Linked DNA regions of Homo sapiens: region 2 is linked to region 1. The links are contacts of gene promoters, found by promoter capture Hi-C in blood cells and fetal thymus (Javierre and others, 2016). All regions are on one chromosome and are shown on one strand. The core of a region is centred on a gene start or on the middle of the fragment in contact, and the rest is flanking DNA. Distances in the headings are between cores, read along the strand shown.

What was found. Contacts are between HindIII fragments. The CHiCAGO score rates a contact against its expected background, and 5 or more counts as called.
Region 2: a fragment that was not itself captured here is called in contact with the fragment with the promoter of SLC28A2 in region 1 in 1 of 17 cell types (fetal thymus); the score reaches 5.3 in fetal thymus.

Annotation. Positions count from the first base shown.
Region 1 is chr15:45,250,984-45,253,683 of GRCh38, reverse strand. It overlaps SLC28A2 (solute carrier family 28 member 2), which reads right to left and starts at 1,450. Exons shown (of 18, transcript NM_004212.4): 1 at 1,406-1,450; 2 at 388-484; 3 at 164-252. The coding sequence starts at 468. It overlaps SLC28A2-AS1 (SLC28A2 antisense RNA 1), which reads left to right. Exons shown (of 5, transcript NR_120335.1): 5 at 1,612-2,103. The HindIII fragment of the contact is 6,298 bases long and covers 1-2,648 here.
Region 2 is chr15:45,358,162-45,360,861 of GRCh38, reverse strand. No RefSeq gene overlaps it. Among named protein-coding and RNA genes, the nearest start is that of GATM, 19 kb to the left of the region's middle. The HindIII fragment of the contact is 473 bases long and covers 1,214-1,686 here.

The sequences.
Region 1 (2,700 bases), core at 201-2,700:
TATGGAGTTTATGGCACATGTTTAAGTTAATTAATTATGTAAGATACATATATATATGTACACATGGTAAGGTGGAGCGGTTGTGATAATACCACAAGCTGCCTGAAGGGGCAGCCCACCCTAGATCCTTTCCTAACTGAACAAGATTCCAAAACACCAGTACCTCTGGTAAGTGGAAGGGCCCAGTCCATCCCCCAGGCTGTGTCCTTGTGCGTCAGTCCTCTTGCTTCCCTCAGGCTCTACTTCTTTTTCCTACAAGCACAGAGAGCATTGGGATCAGTCATGGAGCCCTGCCAGGGATGATGGGGATTGAGAGCAGCCAAATACCCTACAGGAGCCCATGCAGCAGCCCACAGCTCTGCAGAGAGAAACTAAACTGGTGATTACCATGAGCTCCAGCCCCGGGTTCACTGTGCCAGTCTCCACTGTGGACAGAGCAATGGACTGTCTTCCACTTGCTTTCTCCATCTCCTGTTCTCCTCAACTGAAAAACAAATTCAGGGCCAAGCCTGAAAGATTGGTCATTCTGTTCTGTGGGGATGGGGAGAATTTTTAGGACCAGTTACCCATGGAAAACGCAAAACTAAAAGTCTTTGAAGGCTTAGTTGATTTCTTTAAGAACTGAGAATTGAGAAGATTGGATGTGTAATTTTTATATAATAAATAATGAAAAATAAAATCCTATTTCCTCTTGTGAATAGCTAAAGAAGAGGCAGTAAGATAGGAGAAGAGAAATGAAAGGCAGTGGAATTGAAATGAATCAGTGGGCCGCCCAGGGCCCCAGGATCTGGGCTATAAAGGTTCCTACTTGGACCCTCAAAGAAAGAGTCACAGGGTAACTACTCCTTTTAGCCCCAGGGAGGCCCCACTGAGCTTGCTGAGTAAGAAGGAAACAGGGAGGAAGGCAGTTGGGAAGACCCGGACCCTAAAGTATTGCTGAACAGATAACAATTTACAGGCCTTCAAATTCCTGACTATAATGTAGCATAAGAATTGGTTTTTTATGCCCCAGAGAGAACTCATCAGTGAAATTAACAAAACTTACATTTAAAATAATTAGTATGAATGTTAATGATCCCAAGTAAAGTTTTTAAACAAAATAAGCAAACATTTGGGCCTCAGAATAAGCAAATTTAATACATGGACATTCACAATTAGAATATAAGTTCATTCTGAGATATTTATTTACTTTGCAGAAAATTCCCTTCCCCATGGAATTGCTTTTGAAAATGTGATCTCTTCAAGCATTTGAAGTATAATTTCATTAAACACACATAACCAACTTATATTGTGTAAATTAGGGCCTTCCTGACTAGGCACAAAACTACCTGCATTTAGTTTAAATATGATCTCTTTAAAAATTTGTAAATTAGGCACCTGCCCTCCCCCAAACACCTTTACTTACCCCAGCTTGTGGAATTGATTCCCTCTGGCTCCTCAGTGAAGGACTGAAAGAAAAGCTCAGCTGCGAGGGAGGAGGGGCAGCTTGGGTGGGGCATGGGGGCTTTCCTGCCATTGGTTAGTTTTATGTCTTGGGCCCTCCTTCGCTGAGCCTGCCCTCAATGTAGAGGAGGACTGCACCTCTCAAGTTAAATATTATATGTTTTTAAGACTGTTTTGCAGGCCTAAGACTTATGCAGAGGTGGCGCCCGCCCGTAATCCCAGCACTTCGGGAGGCCGAGACGGGCGGATCGCTTGAGACCAGCCAGGATAACATGGCGAAACCACATCTCTACAACAAATACAAAAATTAGCTGGGCGCGGTGGCACACGACTGTGGTTCCAGTTACTCGGCAGGCGGAGGTGGAAGGATCCCTTGAGCCTCTGGAGGTGGAGGTTGCAGTGAGCTGTGATTGCGCCACTGCACTCCAGCCTGGGCGACAGAGTGAGACCCTGTCAGAAAACAAAACAAAACAAAAGAATTCTGTAAGAACTTCTAACAGGTACATTCCTGTAAGCATTACCCACCACTGGACTAGGCACTGGGTAGCCTGTAAAATACAGTAAGAGCCGTCTCTGCACCCAGAAAATTTACCATCATTTTGTGCTGGAAAGACATGCCCTAGAAAACAATAAACAGCACGACTGTACATGATTCCATGCCAAATGACTGCTAGGAATTATTTTATTAATCCATTCAACAAATACTTATTGAGTAACCACTATTAGCCAGCCACCGTTTTCCGTGTGAGGACATAAAAATGAGTGAGACAAGGTCTCTGCCATCAAAAAACGAACAGATCAGTGAGGAAAGACGGATGTGTCAAGAAAGGCTTTGCAGGTCGAGCGCGGTGAATCACGCTTGTAATCCCAGCACACTGGGAGGCAGAGGCAGGCGGATCATTTGAGGTCAGGCGCTCGAGACCACCCTGGCCAACATGGCGAAACTCCATCTCTACTAAAAATACAAAAATTATCCGGGCATGGTGGTGCAGGCTTGTAATCTCAGCTACTCAGGAGGCTGAGGCAGGAGAATCATTTGAACCCAGGAGGCAGAGGTTGCAGTGAGCCATGATCATGCCACTGCACTCCAGCCTGGGTGAGCGAGACTCCATCTCAAAAAAAAAAAAAAAAAAAAAAAAGAGGGAGAGAAAGACTTTACAGAGCTGGTAACACTTATCCTGGCCTGGAAAGAAAGAAAGAAAGCTTCCTATGACGCCCTCTGGATAAAACTTAGGACCCCTCCCTGCACTCTGATTG
Region 2 (2,700 bases), core at 201-2,700, 110 kb before region 1:
TGAAAAATCTGCATAGAATGTGTACTTTGAAATGAATCACAGGTTTCAACTGTACCCTTACTAACGCCTTGAACTCCTTTGCATCCTGGTGTTCCTTTTACATCCATTACAGAAACACCTGTTAGTCCTACACGTGGACTGAATTCTGCTTGAGAAATCTATCCAGTTGTTTGGATTGGTGCACATTAGGGTATATATTTGCAGGCCTAAATACTACCCAACAATTCTGCTGCACAGTTCTTTGCGTCCTCCTCAGTAGCTATTCCAAACCTTCACTACATTTTCTTAGCTGATCATATTGTTTCATTTTTCACAAAGGAGAGAGAGACCATCAGGCATTAGTTCCTTCAGTTTACGATCCCCTATAGATTTATACACATTTGCATATTCTGGTTAAGTTTCTTTCTCCTTTCCTTTACAGTAAGTAGTTCTCCCTTATCCTCAGGGAATATGTTCCAAGACCCCCGGTGAATGCCTGAAACTATGGGTAGTACCAAACCCTATATATACTATGCCTTTTCTTATACATGCAGACCTATGATAAAGTTTAATGAAGTTAATCTGGTGCAACACATGGCTGTCAGTCGGGAACATGTTTTCTCTTCATGTCTTGCAAACAAAAATGTAATGCCTTTTCCACCTTAACTAAGCACTTATCAATGCTCTGTGACCATAACTTTTGCCATGTGTAGTGCGACAGCAAAACTAGCATGCATTTCTTTTTCCTTTATCACAACTTCACAGATAGGAGATTCGTTCTTACCATGGATCTCAGCAACCTCAACATACAACTTTTTCTTTTCTTGTTGAGAACTTCCACCTTTCCCTTAAAGAAAGCCACTTAGGCTTTACTTTGGTATGTCCGAATTGCCAGCATTAAGACTTGCACTTGAGTCATTATTAAGTAAAATAAGGTTACTTGAATACAAGGACTGTGGTCTGATAACGAGGTGGCTACTAAATGACTGAAGGGCGGGTGGTATATACAGTGTGATACGCTGGAAGCGGGAGGATTCATGTCCCAGGTGGAGGGAGTGGAGTGGGCCAGTGCAAGATTTCATCACGCAGCTCAGAACAGCGTGCAATTTAAAACTTACGAATTATTTATTTCTGCATTTTTCTATTTAATATTTTTGGACCATGGTTGACCACTGGTAACTGAAACTGCTGAAAGTGAAACTTTGGATGAAGGGACTACTGTGCTACCTAAGCTTCCAGAGAAAAAAATCAGGCCTTCATCTCATTGCATGCATTTGCTTCTCAACCATGTATAAAGGGTCTTCTCTCGCTGCTACAGAAAAAGAGGTGAAACTTCTCACCAACTCTAATCCACACAACCGTCCTTTGATCCTAATCTTTCTCTTTTTTCAGAATTTGCTACATCAATTATCATCTTTCTTGTAACTCCAGCACCACCACCGCTCTGTGTGTGTGGGAGGGAGCTTTCCCCCTCAGAAAATAGTCATGCTCAAAACAATCCACAGTGCGGTCTACATCCCTGATCCGTGATCAAGGCCTTATCATGACAAAATGATCACTCCTAGTTTGAGAGCTACCACTTGCTTTGCAATATCATATAATCAAATAGATAATCAAAATGTACATACAGATTCCACACATTTTTAATAACCAGTTGGTTTGGACTTATACAGATAGCTCAACCAACCAAAAATTCTATCATAAGCTTTCTCATATATTTGAACTAACTTTACAACAATTCATTTGCCTACCTGATCTGTAGCAGTGTGTAGTATGTATCTGTTGAGTGATTACAAACTATAATTATTGTTGCTGAAGTCAAAATATGCTTCAGGCCAATCCTGCTCCATAGGGATAATATGCTGAAGGGAATTTAGTTCAATATCCCAATATATTTGATTGTTAATATCAATATTATAAGTTTTATTAGCTTCTAAAATATTAATTTTACCTCATGTGGTCTACCCGCCCCAGCCTCCCAAAGTGCTGGGATTTACAGGCATGAGCACGTGGTTTTATTCCTTCCAATTTTCTATTAACCCATTACTTTGAGGATGAAAAGTAATCTGATAAGCCTACTAAATGTGATGTTTTGGCCCCTAATCCTGTGGAAGTCTTATAGTTAATTATAAATGGTATCATAAAGGAGGAGACCTTCATGGGATTTTATAGGAAGTTGGAGGGACCCACAACTGCTCTCTTCAAACTGCCCAGGGTGTACAAATCCCAAGGCAGATACCAAGGCTGGAAGTAGTGTGAGGCCAGTGAAGTACTCACCATGTCCACAAAATTTAGGGGGACCAAAAAAACCTCGGTAATCCAGATAATAATAATGCAGTATTTTTTAAGCATCAAAATTAATGAAAAAATCCATGATGAACAAAATATCAAAATGTTAAATGAAGACAAGATCAGTATTACTGATGTTTCTTTTGCCTCAGGTTCCAATGTGGCTTGACACGGCACTGACTGTACCCAGGAACTAGAGGTGAAGTGGAAGTAAACCGGCCCTTGTGGTCCGCTATCCAGCTGCCATTCAAATTTTTCAGGTAGCCCAGAAAACCTCTAGCCTAGGTTTGGATGATACCTGATTGCACTTGACCTCCAAGATGTCCACTTGGCCCTCTTCCAAGTGTACTTTACTTTCTTTTCATTCCTGCTCTAAAGCTTTTTAATAAACTTTCATTCCTGCTCAAAAAAGAAAAAAAGAAAAAAAAAAAG